Regions from separate parts of the Homo sapiens genome. Here regions 1, 3, 4, 5 and 6 are each linked to region 2. Evidence: promoter capture Hi-C in 16 types of primary human blood cells and fetal thymus (Javierre and others, 2016). All regions are on one chromosome and are shown on one strand. Each heading gives the region's core, a stretch centred on a gene start or on the middle of the fragment in contact. The rest is flanking DNA. Distances are from core to core; before and after follow the strand shown.

Region 1 (3,481 bases), core at 60-2,559, 1.6 Mb before region 2:
ATTTCCGCAACTTTAAGCTTTACCATGTAGACCAAAAATAAAATTCTAAGCTCCCCAATCAGTTGAATGGATGCCTCCTTGTCCAGGGGCATTCCAAAGTTACCTGAAACGCTAGTTCATGTCATGATGGGAACAGGTGGTCAGACAAGCCTCATTATACTCTCCTCCCTTTGGGACAGAGTCCCTTTGGGATTCAGGCACATCTGACCAGCATTAACATAAGTCTGACAAAGAAGGCTTTTTGTAGCAGTAAGATACCAACATGACAGACAGCAGGCCCTGAAGTAAATTGAAGTAGTTTACCCCAAAAAATATATATATATTTTTGACACATTTTGAAATGGCCCTGCAAAGGTGTCTCTTGTGGGGAAAATCTACTTTCAGTAGAGAATCCCCTTCCCTTTCCAGATATTTTTCCTTAACCAGGAGAGAATTTACTGAGAGTCTTGCACCTTAAAAAGGTAAAAAATAAAATTTTTGGCTGGGCATGGTGACTCACGCCTATAATCCCAGCACTTTGGGAGGCCAAGGCAGGTGAATCACCTGAAGGTCAGGAGTTCGAGACCAGCCAGGCCAACATGGTGAAACCCCATCTCTGGCTAATACAAAAATTAGCCAGGCATGGGGTGGGGGTGTGGGCGCCTGTAATCCTAGCTACTTGGGAGGCTGAGGCAGGAGAATTACTTGAACCTGGGAGGTGGAGGTTGCAGTGAGCCGAGATCACACCATTGCACTCCAGCCTGGGCAACAAGAGCGAAACTTCGTCTCAAAAAATAAAATAAAATAAAATAAAATAAAAAAAATAAATAAAAATTAAAAGTTTTACAATCTGACCTGGTGCTGTGGCCCACTCCTGTAATCCCAGCACTTTGGGAAGCCGAGGCAGGTGGGTTGCTTGAGCCCAGGAGTTCGAGATAAGTCTGGGCAACACGGTGAAACCCTGTCTCTACTAAAAATACAAAAATTACCAGGACGTAGTGGCGCGCATCTGTAATCCCAGCTACTCCAGAGGCTGAGAGGTGCGAGGATGGCTTGAGCCTGGGAGGTTGAGGCTGCAGTTAGCTGAGATTGCACCACTGCACTCCAGCCTGGGTGATGGAGTGAGACCCAGAAATAATTACAATGTGTTCTTTCTGAAGCCTGCTACCTGGAGGCTTTATCTGCATAACAAGAACCTTGGTTTTCGCAACCCCTTATCTTAATTCAGGCACTCCCTTCTATAAATTTCAGGTCTTTAGATAAACTCTTTCAACTAACTCCCAATCAGAAAATCTTTGAATTCACTCATGATGTAGAAGCGCCCCATCCACCCTCACTGAACCAATGTACATCTTACATGTATTTTTTGATGTCTTCTGTCTCTCTAAAATGTGTAATAAAAAGCTGTAGTCCGACCACTTTGAGCACACGTTCTCAGGATTTCCTGGGGCTGTGTCACTGGCCATGGTCACTCATATTTGGCTCAGAATAAGTCTCTTCAAATATTTTACAGAGTTTGACTCTTTTCTTCATCGACAATCAATATGTGAGAGTTGATACTGAAGGTCCCTTTTGTCTATAATATACTTCATTCTATCGCATTTTTCACCAGACTGTTTTGTTTGGTTTTTATAGAGATGAGATCTCACTTTGTTGCCCAGCCTGGTCTCTTGGGCTTAGGAGATCCTCCCTCCTCAGCCTTCTAAAGTTCTGGGATTACATGTGCGAGCCCCCACCCTCAAACTGTGCCTTTTTTTTTTTTTTTTGAGCCCGAGTCTCACTCTGTCACCCAGGCTGGAGTATAGTGCCACGATCTCGGCTCACTGCAACCTCCACCTCCCGGGTTCAAGCATTTCTCCCTGCTTCAGCCTCCCGAGTAGCTGGGATTACAGGCGTCCGCCACCATGCCTGGCTGATTTTTTTTTTCTTTTTTTTTGTATTTTTAGTAGAGACAGGATTTCGCCATGTTGGCCAGACTGGTTTTGAACTCCAGACCTCAGGTGATCTGCCTGCCTCAGCCTTCCAAAGTGCTGGGATTGCAGGTGTGAGCCACTGCACCTGGCTAAACTGTGCTTTTTAAAATTGTATTTCCACTAAAAAAATGTAGATGTAAAATATTTTTGGTTTAAATACTTGATTGATAAGATCTCAGGCGTGGTGGCCCATGCCTGCAATCCCAGCACTTTGGGAGGCTGAGGCGGGTAGATCACCTGAGGTCAGGAGTTCGAGAGCAGCCTGGCCAACATGGTGAAACCCCATCTCTACTAAAAATACAAAATTAGCCTGGCATGGTGGCATGCGCCTGTAATCCCAGCTCGGGAGGCTGAGGCAGGAGAATTGCTTGAACCTGGGAGGTAGAGGTTGCAGTGAGCCGAGATCACACCATTGCACTCTAGCCTGGGCAACAAGAGTGAAACTCCATCTCAAAAAAAAACAACAACAAACAAACAAACAAAAAAACCTCAGGCATTACAGTTTTATTTGAATAGGCAATTCATGCACACAGAACAAAGTTCAAAAAGTACCAGATACCAGGAGGTATAAGGTATGGAGAGGAAAGTCTTTCTCCCATTTTTTCTTCTCTTTTCTTTCTTTTTTTTTTTTTTTTTGAGACAAGCTTCTTTCTGTCACCCAGGCTGGAGTGCAATGGCGTGATCCCAGCTTGTTGCAACCTCTGCCTCTCGGCTTCAAGCAGTTCTTCTGCCTCAGCCTCCAGAGTAGCTGGGATTATAGGCATGCCACCATGCCCGGGTAAGTTTTGTATTTTTTAGTAGAGACAGGGTTTCACTAGGTTGGCCAGACTGGTGTCGAACTCCTGGCCTCAAGTGATCTGCCTGCCTCGGCCTCCCAAAGTGCTGGAATTATAGGCATGAAACACATGCCCAACTTCTCTCCCATTTCTAACTCACAACAATTCTCTTGAGTGATGTTGGGGTTGGTCTGGCAGCTCAACAAGGCCATCATAGGCTTTGAGTACTCTCTTCTTGTTCTGGGTCTTTCTTCTCTGCTACCTTTAGCAAAAGGACATTTCTTTTCATGATTGTCACTTCATGTCTGCAAAGTAGCTGCTGCAGCCATCATGGCCAGTTTCAAGGCTGGAACATGAGGGAAGAGGCAGCTCCAGCACACTATACTTTTGAATGTCCCTTTTTACTGGGAGAAAGCCTTTCCAGGGAAATCCTGACAGTTGTTTTCCTGTTTCATTAACCACTATTGGGCCACACAGAGGCTGGGAAACTGACTGCCAGGCAAAAGGGTATGAATAATGATTCTAATATTAGTTTTTTTTTTTTTTTATTCTAGTTTTCTGTGCTGGGTGTAAGAGCTGAAATTTGTTAGTATAACACCATTTTTCCTCAATTCAACAATGATGTTTTCATCATTTCTATTTCAGGAGATACATCCAGAAGACTGCATTACAATTTCAAATCAAAGCTGGACAAGTTTTTTTTTTTTTTTACACAGATATCACCATGTTAGAAAAGTTGGACAAGTTTTGAAA
Region 2 (3,114 bases), core at 580-3,079:
TCCTGCCTCAGCCTCCCGAGTAGCTGGGATTACCGGCATGCACCACCACACCCGGCTAATTTTGTATTTTTAGTAGAGACGGGGTTTCTCCATGTTGGTCAGGCTGGTCTCGAACTCCTGACCTCAGGTGATCTGCCCGCCTCAGCCTCCCAAAGTGTTGGGACCACAGGCGTGAGCCACCGTGCCCAGCCACTATCTGAAATTTTTATTTGTTCTTATAATGTCTGTCTCCCCACACCAGAGTCTTGAAACATTCCTGGCACACAGCAGTTTCACAACAAATAACTACTAATAAGTAACTTCCTAATTTTTAAAAAAAGTATGATAAACTAGCATTTCTGCAGGTCAGAATCCAGTCACACCAGTTTTTCCAAAACTCTAAAATTAGCAATATGGTCAAATGAGACGCCACTAAGTCCCTATACCAATACTTGGACTACGATGCCTTCAATCATTTATTCAGAGCATACAGCTGAAACACGTAATTCTAACAAGGTGATTTCACAAACCAAGGAAGTCTAGAAAACAGAAGGCAAAGAAGCTGCTCTAGACAGGCACTTTAAAGAGCAACAGGTAGTAATGAACGATAAGTGAGAAAAAAAGATGCTCAAAAGTACATGGGAGAAAAGGAAAGGGAGAGGGCACAGAATTATACCTCCCACACCTTCCTAGTATGGAAAGTGCAAGACTACTGCACAGCATTAGTGATGTCACAGGCAGGTCCCCGAGTCACCAATACAACAGCACACCTACGTCTAGTATAAGCCATTTCAGAGGACAAGTTAAAGACAGAATTATAGAAACGTTTCATTCTCGAGACAAAAAGTTAATGTAATTCACTCATGTGCTTCCTTATGCTCCATTCATCCGATACAGTGCTACTAAAAGCCATTAAAGTCACCTGCAGAGATGTAACACAATGTTTGGATTTGGAGCCTTAAACATGTGTAACACGTGCCCCCTTGGTTCCCAAGTCAAGGAACAACTAATGAATTGCTGGAAAAGCGAGCTCTAAGCCCTGTAAACCACAACTGCAAGCTGTGTCTAACTGCATCGTAACCAGGCCTGGTGAGCTGCGGGGTGTAGTGGGTAGATCACTGAGGCCTGGGCTCAGAAAAACTGGGTTCAAACGACCTGCTCCAACTTAGGAAACACAACTCGCCGGGTGATTTAATGTTTGTTTTCGGCTCTTAAAGCGGGGCGGGGAAGAGGACCATCTGCCCACCTACCTCGGTCTTCTAAGAACTGAGCATTAAGGGAGAGACTTTACATGAGTCCCTCAAAGACGGTCCCGTCGAAAGCTAGCAGTCAGGACACAAGGCGGTAACGTCGGCCTGGGTTTAGGGACAGCGGCTACAGGAACCAATTCAACTACACCACTCAGCTGAAATGAAAGTTCTCCAACTTTCAATCACCAAAAATACACTTTACTTGCAGGACAACAGCTCAAGTGAGGCTAACCTGTAAAATGCATCCAAGTACCTGCCAAAAGAAAAGTACTTGAGGTTGACAAAAAAGGAGACAGACTTGTGGAGACGAGGCAAACTTTTCGGAGGCAGCACACCCCACAAGGCTCCGGGAGGTGCGCGACCCCGGCCCGCGCCTCCCCGGACACTTCCCAGCCCAGCGCGCCGCCGCGCCCCCGCCCAGCAACCGCTCCGGGCGCGCAAAGCCCAAGGACCGCCGCCCCGCCCTCTGAGGGGGACGGAGCGGGTCTTAGGATCGGGAGGGTGCGCGGACGCGGCGGGCGGGGGCCCGCTGACCTCAGGGCCTCCGGAACCTCACCTCTCCGCAGCAACACAACAGGGGGCCGCGGCCGGCTCCGCGCTGGGCTTCCGGCTCCCGCCTGGACTGTTAAACTTCGGCGGCCGGAAGTCCCGCCCCGAGTGACGTCACGGGGCGAGGCGCTGCGTGCGGCTGTGGCTTCTGGCCGGACAGAAGTCGGGGTACAGAGGGTCTGGTCAGGGCGGCGCTGGGCAGCCGCGGGGGAAGTTATCCCAGTGTCAGGGCGGGAACTGCGGGCCGGGGCGGCCCTCTCCACGCCCCAGCGACGGAGCTCCGGCCACTGCCAACTGCTTGTCATTCACTTGCTGTTTACTGTGTGCCAGGCACTGTGCTAGACTCTTGAGTGTACAGTGATGGTTTAGCCTGGGGATACAGGGGTACAGTGAATTCTCGTGGTCCTTGGCCTTGTGGAGCTTACAATGCACTATAGGAAGCTGACGTTATTAGATGCTTAAATGGAAAGTGAAACTATGATAATGAAAGGTATAAGATGCACGAAGACCCATAATAAGGGAAACTATTGTGGATGTGGATTTAGGAAAGGATTCCTACATGCGATTTACAAGCCAGGAAACGCGCTCAGGCTGAGAAATAACCCAAAGAGTAGGCGTCTGCACTAACCTACTTCAAAACCCATGATCTTTCTTTCGCATCATGCTGCGAGGTCCGGAACATCAAACATCATCTGTTTGGGAATTCTTTTGAAGGGGATACTTCAAGGTGGAAAAGGAAGTTGCTGAGCCGAGTTTTCAAGTGCCCCTTCCAAAGGTCCTTTTATAGCTCTACTGACAATTTTTGCTAAGAATATTTATCATAAATATAGAGCATTTCTTCTGCAAAAAGTGTTATTCTTTCATCACAACTACATGGGGTGTGTTTCTGAACTAGGTACATCAGCCCCAGTTATCTGCATTCATATTGCAGATAATTGGAAAATTCTAATAAGTGCATTTTTTCAGAGCAGAAATTGAAATCGTAGCCAAGTTACTGAGGTTCATGGGGGAGTGGCAAAAGGAGAAAGATAGCAAGCAGCAACTACCTTAATTGTACAGTCTGCAGTTCTTGAGGCTATGAAATCCAATTTGGGCAGGGAGGAGGCCCAGAAAGTTGGGAACTAAGAAAGTACGGTAAGGGAGTGGGGGCAGGGAGAATGGGAGCAAATGGAGAAAAGAAAACTTCAAACAAAAAGGGCAATTAATTAAATCTCTGAAAATTGAAGCCAGCAGGAAAATTGAGACTAGACTATATGAAAATATATATAATAATACATGTAATATAATATATACATATTATATGATATAATACTAGTTATACATATAAAAATAGATA
Region 3 (3,133 bases), core at 207-2,706, 1.7 Mb before region 2:
AGTCTCTACTAAAAATACAAAATTAGCCAGGCGTGGTGGTGCATGCCTGTAATCCCAGCTATTCAGCAGGCTGAGGCAGGACAATCACTTGAACCTGGGAGGCGGAGGTTGCAGTGAGCTGAGATAGTGCCATTGCACTCCAGCCTGGACAACAAGAGCAAAACTCCGTCTCAAAGAAAAAAAAAAAAGAAGCCGGGTGCGGTGGCTCACACCTGTAATCCCAGCATTTTGGGAGGCCAAGGTGGGCGGATCATGAGGTCAGGAGATGGAGACGGTGAAACTCCGTCTATACTGAAAAATACAAAAAATTAGCTGGGCGCAGTGGCAGGCGCCTGTAGTCCCAGCTACTTGGGAGGCTGAGGCAGGAGAATGGCGTGAACCCGGGAGGCGGAGCTTGCAGTGAGCCGAGATCACGCCACTGCACTCCAGCCTGGGTGACAGAGCGAGACTTTGTCTCAAAAAAACAAAACAAAAAAAAAAACAAAAAAAAATGAAGTTCACTTAAAATAAGTACTTTCATAGTATAAATTTTTAAGTGTTTACTTACGCTTTTAGGCCTTCTTCCTTATACATTTTGGGAGCTGCATCCCTCAAAGTGTTGGCATAACCTGGCTGGGTTTGAATTCGAACCTTAGCAGCTTCCATAGGAGCCAGGGCAATGTCAGCAAAGAATTCAGCACTGGCAGAGGCAGCCAAATATAGTGATGTGCGCCAGAGATAAGTATTCTCCTAAAATCCAAAACACAAGGAAGGGATGTGAATTGCTGTTGTGTTGGTTTTCAATTGAAGTGACAGTTCTAGAAAACAACTAAGCTTCAGACATTTTATAAAGTAACACACGATGATATGGAATATATATGTGGTCTCATAACCTCATTAACAAAACACGTAACTATGTGAACAACATGAATATTCAAAAAATATCTAGATGCCATGCCCCGGAACTACGCAAAGGAGTCCCAGAGCCCTTCTCTAAAAAACTCAAAATCCAACTTACTTAGAAAACAAGATAGTATATTAAAAGGAGAATTGTAATTTAATGAAATACATTTATCAACCTGTCTCTGCTGACACAGGCATACGATTTAAAACAAGTTGCTCACTTTGTAGGACCATTTTCTTCAGTGCTAAAATAAGGCAAGACAGACAAAAATCTAAGAACACTCGGAAAGTCTTAAACACTCGGAACATTCAATTTTAAAGTTAATTACATACCTCTCCAAGCATATTGCTATACAAGACTTTAAAGACTTCATAAAAGCCAAACTTGCAGAGTCCCTGCATGGAGTAGCCAAGGAAAGTCGGAGCCCATCCTTTAGCCAAACCACGAACACCATCCTCTTTAAGTGTAACTGAGAATCCGTTAAATATGCCCTTGTACTTTTGGGGGTCCACCTTTATTTAAAACAAGAAAAAAAAAATTAAATGCACCAAACAGCTAACATAAAAATTTAATCTCATGATTATTTTTGTTTGGGTTCCATAATAAATTTCAGCAACTACACAAAAGGTAACTACAGTAATTCCTGCCAGGCACGGTGGCTCACATCTGTAATCCCAGCACTTTGGGAGGCTGAGGCAGGTGGATTACCTGAGCTCAGGAGTTCAAGACCAGCCTGGGCAACACAGTGAAACCCCATCTCTACTAAAATACAAAAAATTGGACGGGCATGGTGGCGTGCACCTGTAATCCCAGCTACTCGGGAGGGTGAGGGTGAGACAGAACAATCGCTTGAGCCTGAGGGAGGGAGGTGGAGGTTGCAGTGAGCCACGATGGCACCACTACACTCCAGCCTGGGCAGCAGAGCAAGACTCCATCTCAAAAAAAAAAAAAGAAATACAGTAGCTCTCCCTTATCCAAGAGTTCATTTTCTGTGGCTTCAGTTATCCAAGGTCAACTGACATCTGAAAATATTAAGATATTTTGAGTGAGGAACTACATTCATATAACTTTTATTAGTTTATGCTTATCACTGTTTATTATTGTTCATTTGATTACTTTTATAAATAGAAACTGTTGTACATTAAGGTCTAGCTTTCTGTGTCAAACCTAAGTCTTGGAGTGATAGTTAAGAGGGTAAAATTTCAACAAAAGCTTTCTGTGTCAAACTTAAGTCTTGGAGTGATAGTTAAGAGGGTAAAATTTCAACAAAAATACGTAACAAAACTGATTCTTAACAGATTTCTTACCACCCAACTCCTACTACTTTTTTTGTGTTTTTTGTTTGTTTGTTTTTTGAGTCTTGCTCTGTAGCCCAGGATGGAGTGCCATGGTGTGATCTCAGCTCACTGCAACCTCCACCTCCCAGGTTCAAGCGATTCTCCTGCCTCAGCCTCCCGAGTAGCTGCGACTACAGGCACGCCACCATGCCCAGCTAATTTTTGTATTTTTAGCAGAGATGAGGTTTCACCATGTTGGCTAGATTGAGTTCTGATCTCGAACTCCTGACCTCAAGTGACCCACCTGCTTCGGCTACCCAAAATGCTGGCATTCCAGGTGTGGGCGACCATGCTTGGCCCACCTCCTACTTTTTAAAAGCTACTGTCTAGATAATAGATATAACTGTATTCCTAACATATGCTAGTTCTTTAAGTAGCTTATAGCATAAAGTTTTGTGAACACTAAACAAACTAAACACAAGTTAAAAAAAAAAAGCACATAAACTAAATTCACTTCAAGAGACATGCATAACACGTTTTAGCAAAGGTACATTTCATATCCATTACATTAACTAATGGGGGGGGAGGAAAAGCTTATCTATTTCTGCCAGTACTAGAAGGGATGGTATACATCACCTTCCTCTCCCTCCTAATATTTCAAATTCATTTCTCTTTTAGGTAAGTAGACTTCTAATCCAGTTTGGAACAAATAAATTTTCGATGTCTTGTTTTTGTTTCAATGATCTTAATTAAAATATATTCAAATTATTTTAAAATGTTGTGTAAATAAACAAGAGGCTAATCTGACAAAATTTTCATACTAAGATATTAAGAGCACTTTAAATAAATCTACATGTACTCTTTGCCTTGGTCTTATTAGTAGATAAAGGACATTGTTACTTCACATAATACACAGACTTGTTTACCCACTCCAACACATAGGTGCTTGTTAAATGACTATTTGGGGCACTAG
Region 4 (3,465 bases), core at 804-3,303, 1.7 Mb before region 2:
TGTATTTGAGAATGGAAGTGAACTCCAGAGATTAAAATTTATCTTTGGGAAAGCACCTATTCTTGAATTAGTGGACATACAAAGGCAGACTCCAGAGAATAAAGAACTAAATATGAATAATAAGACTGTAATAGGACTACTTGAACAAAACTCAGGAAACACAAGTTAGAAGACAAAAAAAAAAACTGATTAGTTTGACTACATCAGAGTTCTCGTCTACTGAGAACACCCAGGAAAAAAATTAATCAGATGGCAAATTAAAATAAGGTATTTAAAAGTCTAAAACCAGCTGAGCACAGTGGCTCACGCCTGTAATACCAGCACTTTGGGAGGCGAGGCAGGGGGATCACCTGAGGTCGGGAGTTCGAGACCAGCCTGACCAACATGGAGAAACCCCGTCTCTACTAAAAATACAAAATTAGCCAGGCGTGGTGGTGGGTGCCTGTAATCCCAGCTACTCAGAAGGCTGAGGCAGGACAATCGCTTGAACCTGGGAAGCAGAGATTGTGGTGAGCCAAGATCGCGCCATGGCACTCCAGCCTGGGCAACAAGAGCGAAACTCCGTCTCAAAAAAAATAAAATAAAATAAAATAAAAGTCTAAAACCAACAAAGTTTAATGTCTAGAATATATAAGAAACTCCTAAAAAGCAAAAAGAAAAAAAAATTGGAAACCCCAATGGAAAATAGACAAATAATATAAACAAAATCCATAAAAAAAGAAACCCAAAAGGCTAACAACAAGCTTATGAAGAAATGTTCAAACTTGAGTTACCAGAGAAATGCAAAGTAAAAGACACAACTTTATAGAAGTTTGCCTGGCAAAAATTACAAAGCTGGATCATACCAACCGTCACTGCACAAGTAGAATTATCGGAGTCCCCATACTCATCTGGGGGAAATGTACAGACTGGAGGGGAATCAAATTTGGTATTTGTATATCCTATCATTTAGTAATTTTGGCTGGACATGGTGACTTTCATCTGTAACCCCAGCACTTTGGGAGGCCAAGGCGGGAGCATCACTTGAGCCCAGGAGTTTGAGACCAGCCTGGACAAGATAGCAAAAACCTGTCTCTACAAAAAAATGTTTAAAAACACACCAAGCATGGTGGCTTACACCTGCAATTCCAGCACTTTGGGAGGCCAAGGTGGGTGAATTGCTTGAGCTCAGGAGTTCGAGACCAACCTCGGTAACATGACAAAACCCCAACTCTACAAAAAATACAAAAATTAGCTGGGTGTGTCAGCATGCACCTGTGGTCCCAGCTACTCCGGAGGCTGAGGTGGGAAGATCACTTGAGCCCAGAAGGCAGAGGTTGCAGGGAGCCAAGATTGTGCCACTGCACTCCAGCCTGGGTGACAAAGCAAGACCCTGTTTCATAAATAAATAATTAGCCAGGCATGGTGGCGTGTGCACCCAGCTCCTCAGGAGGCTAAGGTGGGAGGATCACTTGAGCCTAAAAGTTTGAGGCTGCAGTGAGCTATGATATGGCCACTGCACTCAGCCTGGGCAACAGGGTGACACTCTGTCTCTTTAAAAAAAAACAAAAATAAATAAATAATTACTAATTTTGCTCCTAGCTACAAATACCCAAGAAATTCTTACTCACATAGAAGTTCAACCCAGCTTTGCTGCAGCAGCAGAGAGTTGGATACAATCTACATATCCATTTACTTAGGGTAATGAGCAGTAAAATGGGTTGGTGGCAATCAGGTGTAACAAATAACATGTATACATAGCAACAAGGATAAATCTTAAAAACATTGTGTCATGGGAGATAAAAAACAGAATAATACCATAACATCTATGCAAATTTAAAATACCTGCATACCAACAACATACATATTTTACAAGAGTACACACTTTACACAGACATTTACAAAGAACATACATTAAATACATTAGGATTGTCCATGGAGAGGGGAAAGGAAATAAGAATAGGAAATTTTGAAATGGAAATAAATAAATACAGTGAAAAGCTCAGCCTAGTACAGATCTACTATAATAAGCCGTGAACTAAGGAATATGAATAACTCAGTCCTCTGAACTTGAGATCCCACAAAAGTACGAGGAATATGAATTAAGCTCACATGTACAGTTGCCAGTATCTCTAGGATTTTCTCAAAACAAAGTAGTTAAAACCTGTTCCAAGATAACAATTTATACAATATGACTCCTGAATATTTAATTCCATAGATTGTTAGTCAATTTTAATCCCTAGAATTGAAAATTCATCACAATAATGTAGAGCAATTTAAATGGGGAGAGGGAGTGTTCTTTTAAACCTATAAATTGGAATATTATAAATACACAAAGAAAGTTCATAATATTGAAAGGAAAACTCATTCCTTCACACTAAAGGAACTTAAGCTAAATTTATCCTGAAATATCCTTAGTGATCAACTTTGCAGTAGGGGCTTAAAAAAATCCTTGGCTCTGAGACTTGAAAGGAGCTAAGTCTCAGGAAACTTCTCTGTAATGATAGAGGGGAAAAACCAAGGGTTAGGAATCAGGCATACTTCTGACAAGAGTATAGTCTATACCACTTACAAAGGCTATGAAATTAAACTGAGGCCATGTGTACACATAGATATACCCTAGCCTCCATATTTCTAAGTCTCTTAGAGGCTTACTACTTATTCCAATCATTCTGTCTAAACTGTCTTAACCGTAGATCATGTTATACATACATATCAAAAAAAAAAAAACAAAAAACTTTTTTTTGAGATGGAGTCTTGCTCTTGTTGACCAGGCTGGAGTGCAGTGGTGCGATCTCAGCTCACTGCAACCTCCGCCTCCTAGGTTCAAGTGATTCTCCTGCCTCAGCCTCCCGAGTAGCTGGGATTACAGGTGCTCACCACCACACCCAGCTGATTTTTTTTGTATTTTTGGTAGAGACGGGATTTCACCATGTTGCCCAGGCTGGTCTTGAACTCCTGACCTCAGGTGATCCACGCCTCAGCTGGGATTACAAGCATGAGCCACCGTGCCTGGCCTACTAAAAAAAAAATTATTAACTACTAGAAGTTGGGAACTGTCTTTGAATTCCCCTAGAAGTGTCATACAGAGAGAACACACTGATGAATGAGAACACACTGATGAATGGGGGCAGCCTAGAACTGATGGAGCTATACAACTATTCCTGATGAATACCCTGAGAACCTACCAGGATCGCTAAGGTCAGTGGTATACCTGCCAACATTTCTTAAACCCTCTTCTACCCAGTATGCCCTTCCCCACCCCAGTAACCACCCACTACCTTTCCCACCTTCCCTAGTCTCCCATCCCTACCTTCACTGCCTAGCTAACTTTTATTCTTTCTCCAAACTCCTGCTAAGATGTCATCTCATTCAGGAAGCTTGTCCTATCCATCCCCTCCCTTCAGAGAGTTAACATATCCTTCCTTTGTTCTAACTCTGTACCTTATACTTGTTTCTACCATTCAATTTATCACGTATTGATAT
Region 5 (3,563 bases), core at 598-3,097, 1.5 Mb before region 2:
ATTGTCTATTGCTTATTACCCCTTTCTTGTACTCCATCAGAGGCTATAAGTTACGTTCTGAAGGGACTGTGTTCTAGAATATCCTAGATACTGGGGCACAGAGCCTGGCACATAAAAGATGTTCAACATATGTTTGTTGAATGATTACGTGTGTTGAATTAAAGCCTGATGAAACATGGTTGTGACCTTAAGGATCTTACATCTGGCAATGGCTTAGCATACCACTCTGCATTATTCTTTAATTGCTTCATGTGCAAGGCCTCTCCCACCAGACTGTGAGCTCTCAGAGGGCAGGACCAGTCAGTTAGGAACTGGCTGTGAAGCATTAGTCTAAGACTTCATAAGAAGGAGAGGATATGATTTGAGTTGGAATCTAGCTGATAGACAGAAGTTTGCAAAATAGAACCCATCATGATAAAATGAAGTCTTTTGAAACTTCTAGGAAAAATCATTTTGAGAGTTAATAGTAATAGTAATTATAATAAAGTTTAACTCAATTTTCTCAGCACTATGGTGCTGCTTCTGTGAATTCTTGGCTTTACAGTACAGGGTTCCATATTTATCGGGATTGAGGAAGGTATGTAGCCTGCCAAGTAAGCACCATCTGTATTTTATTTTTTGACATTTGAGAAGCACTGCAGATAGACCCAATCTCCATCCACTTCCCATCTCAGCTTCCTGGGTCACTGCCTGAACTCTCACATAGAAAGGTGACACGAAAAGCCGGTGGGGTTATTATTACCTCTATCCCATGCCTTATTGCCTCCATTAAAGAAAAATGGGTCTGAGATGGGATCCTTCGCCCAGGGATCTGAGGAGGCTAGCCTCAGGCCCAGGGGTCATTTTTTACCACAGTGAGCCTGATGCAGGGAGTTCTTAGAGGGAAAACTTGTTAGCCAGAGAATGAAATTCTATCTGGGGCTTCGCAGCTCTGTAATAACCCCTCTAGTGACCTCACCCAGATGCATAAGTCCACTGATGCAAGCTGGCCAGTTTGGCCTTCTCTTCTGTGTTGTAGGCAACGGCTTCGGGGAAGAAAAGAGGGCAAGGTGCACGGGAAGAAATGAGCTCAAAGGAGATTGTGCCAATTACTGCACCTGTCAGTGTTCAACAACAGATAAAATTAATTCGGAAACCCAAACAGTCTGCAGAAAACCGAACACAATTATCTAAGAAATTAAGTTATACCGTTGCCATGACCTTTAATCAATCATCCAACCGTTAATGTTAATTTTGTGATCTAAAAATCATAGTTCTATTTGCATTTTAATGGCTGCTAAATGAGTGTCATCAGGAAGAAATAATGGCAGGGTGGCCTTTTGCTACAAATTCTTCCTTCCTAATGGTGATGCACAAAGCGAGGAAACGGGTGTTTGGAAAAGGTTTTGTTTCACCTCCCAGCAGATGTATGGAGCTGCCCTTCTCAAATGAAAAAACAAGCAATTCCCCACAAATACCACCACCTGTTGTTATAAATAAATCCAAGCTGTAAAATGGAACGAAAGCTTAATGGCAAAATCATTATGCACCTCCCACCCCCTCCCGTCAACCCTTCATAATAGCCTCTTAACAACTTGTTCCTCAGTCGTGTACCTTTTTAAGTTTTCGACCGCCATCAGGTCCCAGCCCTAACCAAGAGAAATGGCCTGTGGATTTGTGGCTAAAAATAAAAAGTTACCAACCTCGGGGAAAATGATCACACGTCCATTTGCACGGTTTAAGTGGCTAGAAACTGGCTACGTGCCACTCTACACTTAGGGTTCCCTTTAATTCTTAATCCAGACATCCAGTGGCTTATTTTACAGCTAATGAACCTAACCTTCAGGTGGGAGCATAAAATCCTAATTAAATCCGGGCATCATGAGGTTATTGGCAGGCTGTCTATAATTCGGCAGAATCTTGATTCTGTGAGTAGCGATAGGAAAATTATAAAACATTTGAATTGGAATGTTTTATCCTTTAATTATCCTCTTACCCATCTCCAAACTCTATTTCCCGACGGACTTTATCACTCTATCTATAAATATTGATTGTTTAGCAGGCCCGGGATATTACACTTATTAAAAATATTGCATTCCTCACCTGAAACTCAGCTTCTTTCCTTAAATCTCCTGTGAGAAGACTTAGATGAATTATTTCTTCTGATGAAAGAGGTCTTAACATTATAAATTGGGGGAGAAAAAAGCTTTAAAAATAAAGAGCTTCAGAGATTTTTTCTGAGTACAGGACACTCAAATAAGGAAGGGAGGGTAAAATATTAGAGATGGATGCTAACTTATTTTTTTCCTGCAAAGAAAAGGTGGGGGGTGGGTAATGTTCCTGCAAAGATTGCAAAACTCCATTTCATAAAAGATTTATTAGCAATGACAGAGGGAGATTGCTGAGTGGAACTCTGATAAATGCCTCGGCTTTTTTTCCCTGCTTTAAAATTATGGGTTCTGTCCATAAAGTACTGATTAATTCATATTCACTCAATGACATACCCTTTTTTTTTCCTCCCCCAAGCAAAGATTGTAAGCATTTTACTTCAACAAACAGTACTCTGGGTGGGATGCATACTAATTCATTTAGCACTGGAACTCGCACCACAACTTATGCAGCTAATCACAGCAAAGCAGGAAAGAATCTTTTCTTTTACTGTGACAAGACCTGCCTACCTTTCAGCGTTTTTCCCCCTAAGGTATTATTAATCTCAAAACTTTACAAAATTGAAGACTTATCTAAGATCCTTCAAAACAGAATAGCGTCATATGTAGCAACTCCCCAAGAGAGAAAATTCTTTGCTTTTCTAAAAGACTGACTGCAGCAATTGGGAGTCCTTTCTTGTTTTAAAAAAATCCAGATAAGTAACTGGAATGTGTTCTAAATTTTCAGATTTAAAAATACAGTATTTATTTTGGAATACTGGAAGGTTCCGGAAGAGAAAAAATGGCAAAGGACCTGGAGGGAGGAGAGTAGATGTTCGGCCACAGATCAGGAGCCAGTGGTGGCCATTCCCTGAGGTTTACCTGGGAGAAACACGAGGGTAGTAAAACAAGATGGCCAGACCTCCCTGCTTCCGAAGGTTACCTTCGTGCAGAGAGTCAGCAAGCATTTTTCCTTTTTTTCTTTTTTTTTTTTTTCTTGAGACAGAGTCTCGGTTTGTCTCCCAGGCTGGAGTGCAGTGGCGTGACCTCGGCTCACTGCAATCTCTGCCTCCTGGGTTCAAATGATTCTCCTGCCTCAGCCTCCTGAGTAGCTGGGATTACAGGTGCCTGCCACCACGCCCGGCTAATTTTTGTATTTTTAGTAGAGACAGGGTTTCACCATGTTGTCCAGGCTGGTCTTGAACTCCTGACCTCAGGTGATCTGCCCGCCTGGGCCTCCCAAAGTGCTGGTATTACAGGCGTGAGTCACTGAGCCTGGCCACATTTTTCAATTTTAATAAAGTTTTAAAATAAGAACAAAAATACATTTAAAATATTGGAAAATATAGTGAATTACTAGCAAAAGAATGATTTTACCAGCTAGTACTGTGCTAGACATAAATCTGGATTAGTAAGAAATTTTCCACAAAAAAGGAT
Region 6 (3,130 bases), core at 102-2,601, 1.5 Mb before region 2:
ATAGAAGCTCTGCACCCTCCTCGTAGGCTGGAAGATCTGGGGAAAATGCCTCTCCTTATGGCATCTTGAAGAAGTATTTTTGAAGAATGTTAAGGGTGTCTTCCTTGCTCTTCTCCCGTCTTCCTCTATCTTGCTTTGCCAGCCAGAGAGAACTGCTGTCAGAGAATTCCTCAGGATCTTTGACCATCCAGGAAAAGAACAACTTCAGACAGAGGATCTTGAATATTTAAGAAAGGGCTATTCTGTGTGGCCTCTGCTGACCAAGGCAAGGTTCCTACTACCTTCACCAGAAGCTCAGTGGCTTGGGAGTGATTTGGGCCAAATCAGGGAGCAAGCTGGCTGGGAAGCTTTAGAGCAAGCCACACAACCAAAGATAGATCAATGAAAGTGATAGAAAGCATTATTTCCTAGGGTTTTTATTTTTTTTCATAGTTATATTACTGGCCAATAGTATTGTGCATTCCAATAATGATGAAAAAAGGCTAAATTATTTAGGCTGCCTGAACCTCTGTTTATTTTGTTGACATGAGAGTGATGTTTTCTCCTGTAATCATTAACATTGGCCTGGTGGGCTTAATGCACTTGGCCAAATTCAGGCTCTCTACAGACAGCATCTGAAAATAGGTGTATCTGAAGTCAAGGCAAGGTGGGGGTGGGAGAAAGGAAACTCCAGTCTTGATGTTTTATTCCACTGGAGAGACTGGGAGCCCCATTAGTTTACTGGTCTCTTGGTTTCCTCCCTCCCTCTGTCTGTGGGAGGTGAAGTGCTGCCTCTGATCAGCCAGCATGGACTCACGAACTGTGCATTTGGGACCCACATCTTGCTGCCCTTGTTCTTGGGATGAGCTGTCCAGGAAACCTGTGTTCTCCTCTGCTCTCCTACTCCATAATTTTTAAGGAAAAAATTAGCTCCCCTACCCTCAAACAGAGAGAGACTGCTGAGATTTGAGGTCGAGTTTATACAATTCTGAGATTGAGTATGATGGGGCCACTTACCAAGTTTTTTGATTTCAGCTTGATTAAAGGTAAAATTTTGATCCTCTAACTACAGCCCCATTGCTTTACTACTCAATTTGTTCAGAAAGGAGAAGAGAGTGCTATTTATTGTGCCTCTTTAGGTTCCCCCAAAAGGCTGAAATTCTGATTTCCCTTAATCATCTTGGGAATTTAATACAAGTAGTTGATGGCATGGAGAGATTCTATAAGAGATTTGCTTCCATACTTGGTGGTTTCACTCATTTCCTGAATAATTTTTTTTTTTTTTTTTTTTTTTTTTTTTTAGATAGAGTAGGGATCTATCACCCAGGCTGGAGTGCAGTGGTGTGATCTCGGCTCACTGCAACCTACGCCTCCTGGGCTCAAGCAATCCTCCCATCTCAGCTTCCTGACTAGCTGGGACTGCAGGCACACACCACCATACCCAGCTAATTTTTGTGTTTTTTCAGAGATGTAATTTCACTGTGTTGCCTAGGCTGGTCTCGAACTCCTGAGCTCAAGCAATTCACCCACCTCTGCCTCCCAAAATGCTGGGATTACAGGTGTGAGCCACTGTGCCTGGCCCTGAACAAATATTTTTTGGACACCTACAGCGTACTGGGACTGTGCCTCAGCCATGATCAAGACAGACAAAATCAAGAACTTCTAGAGGAGAAAAATAGCAACAATAAGAGGAAATTGTTATAAATTGTGATTATTCCTGTGATGGAAATAAGAGAAGTGAAGAATAAGAGGCAGAGGGTGACTTTACATAGAATGAATCTGGTTAAAAGAAGTTCTCATCTTTGCACATACTACCATTAATTAAAATTGCTCATGATATTTGAATGGATACAAAACCAATAGTTAATAAACATAGTGATTCCTTGATATATACTATTAGAATTTTTAGTCTCCCCATAATTGGCATGTTTCTACTAGACTTTTTACGCATTGTCATACATTCATTTATTCAGTCAATGCATATTTTATGCCAGGAAATTTGCTAGGGGCTAAGGATACAGGGATGAATAAGACCTTCTTGCCACCTCAAGGAACAAACTATCTATTTAGGAGAACTAGTGACATAAATAAATATAATATAATATGATGAGATAAGCTGTCATGAAACAGAGTAGGGAGTGAAGGAGTGATCAGCTTGAGATAGAGAAGTTGGGGAATTTCAGGCAGAGGGGAATAAGCATCAAAAAACAACAAAAAGCATGACTTGTTTTTAAGTGGAGCAGGAGTGGGGGTGTGCTAAGGAGAGAGTATGGCCAAGGTACCAACGTTCTGGAAAACTAGAGCATTTTCAGCATTACTCAGAAACATAGGCCCAATTCACCTTTTGCTTTGAACTTGTCCTTAAATGGAAGCTTAATTATTATTTTCATTTTAAAGGCAAACAAACCAAATCTCAAATGGGTGAGGTGCCTCATCCAGGTCACACGTTTGATAAGGAGAACAGCCAGGTTAGAATGACCATGAATGTAAAATGATCTTACTGGTATTGCTGTTAGAGTATATAGAAAGTCAGGGTTTAGATAGGTTTTAAAAAATGTGTCCCACAAAGTACACATTCTTGTTTTGTGCAAAATTTCTGCAGAATCTTCAGAAAAATACACAAAATCCCATGAAACTTTGATGGTGGTTGTGGATTTATCTGTGCTTTCTAATAAAATTTTAATTTTGAGGAGGATTAATTCTCAGCTAAAACATGGCAGCCAAAATTTAATAGTGAAAAGGAGTGAGATTGAAAAACAAGGAAAAAAGTCAGTGTCTTGGTCCATTTTCTGTTGCTATAACAGAATGCCACAGATTAGGTAATGCTAAAGAAAATTTTATTTAGTTCACAGTTCTGGAGGCTGGGAAGTCCAAAATCATGGTGCTGACATCTGGTGAAAGCCTTCTTGCTGTGTCATAACATGGCAGAGGGCATCACATGGTGAAGGGCAAGAGTGTGCCAGCTCAGGTCTCTTTTCCTCTTTTTATAAAGCCAGCAGTCCCATCACAGGGGTCCTACCCTGATGAGCATGTCTAATCCTAATTACTTTTGAAAGGTCCCTCCTCCAAATTCCATCAACATATGAATCTGAGGATTAAGTTTCCAGCAAATGAAATTTGGGAGATGCATGTAAACCATAGCAGTCAGTTT

Evidence for each region. Contacts are between HindIII fragments. The CHiCAGO score rates a contact against its expected background, and 5 or more counts as called.
Region 1: a contact is called between a fragment that was not itself captured here and the fragment with the promoter of NEDD1 in region 2, in 1 of 17 cell types (total CD8 T cells). The highest score is 5.7, in total CD8 T cells.
Region 3: a contact is called between a fragment that was not itself captured here and the fragment with the promoter of NEDD1 in region 2, in 1 of 17 cell types (total CD8 T cells). The highest score is 5.7, in total CD8 T cells.
Region 4: a fragment that was not itself captured here is called in contact with the fragment with the promoter of NEDD1 in region 2 in 1 of 17 cell types (total CD4 T cells); the score reaches 5.2 in total CD4 T cells.
Region 5: a fragment that was not itself captured here is called in contact with the fragment with the promoter of NEDD1 in region 2 in 2 of 17 cell types (M1 macrophages and M0 macrophages); the score reaches 7.5 in M1 macrophages.
Region 6: a fragment that was not itself captured here is called in contact with the fragment with the promoter of NEDD1 in region 2 in 2 of 17 cell types (total CD8 T cells and M2 macrophages); the score reaches 7.3 in total CD8 T cells.

Annotation. Positions count from the first base shown.
Region 1 is chr12:98,487,081-98,490,561 of GRCh38, reverse strand. LINC02453 (long intergenic non-protein coding RNA 2453) reads left to right here. Exons shown (of 4, transcript NR_038383.1): 4 at 3,374-3,481. Among named protein-coding and RNA genes, the nearest start is that of TRD-GTC1-1, 15 kb to the left of the region's middle. RefSeq lists a silencer at 1-31. The HindIII fragment of the contact is 2,579 bases long and covers 20-2,598 here.
Region 2 is chr12:96,905,972-96,909,085 of GRCh38, reverse strand. It overlaps NEDD1 (NEDD1 gamma-tubulin ring complex targeting factor), which reads right to left and starts at 1,829. Exons shown (of 16, transcript NM_152905.4): 1 at 1,786-1,829; 2 at 1,230-1,482. RefSeq lists enhancers at 1,007-1,146, 1,187-1,276 and a silencer at 1,517-1,796. The HindIII fragment of the contact is 8,934 bases long and covers 1-3,114 here.
Region 3 is chr12:98,596,118-98,599,250 of GRCh38, reverse strand. SLC25A3 (solute carrier family 25 member 3) reads right to left here. Exons shown (of 8, transcript NM_002635.4): 4 at 1,216-1,395; 5 at 548-729. Among named protein-coding and RNA genes, the nearest start is that of SNORA53, 2.0 kb to the left of the region's middle. The HindIII fragment of the contact is 1,282 bases long and covers 816-2,097 here.
Region 4 is chr12:98,649,747-98,653,211 of GRCh38, reverse strand. The region is part of intron 4 of APAF1 (apoptotic peptidase activating factor 1); the gene reads right to left. Among named protein-coding and RNA genes, the nearest start is that of APAF1, 6.2 kb to the right of the region's middle. RefSeq lists an enhancer at 2,650-3,465. The HindIII fragment of the contact is 2,616 bases long and covers 746-3,361 here.
Region 5 is chr12:98,386,472-98,390,034 of GRCh38, reverse strand. No RefSeq gene overlaps it. Among named protein-coding and RNA genes, the nearest start is that of TRD-GTC1-1, 120 kb to the left of the region's middle. The HindIII fragment of the contact is 680 bases long and covers 1,508-2,187 here.
Region 6 is chr12:98,410,292-98,413,421 of GRCh38, reverse strand. No RefSeq gene overlaps it. Among named protein-coding and RNA genes, the nearest start is that of TRD-GTC1-1, 92 kb to the left of the region's middle. The HindIII fragment of the contact is 2,004 bases long and covers 350-2,353 here.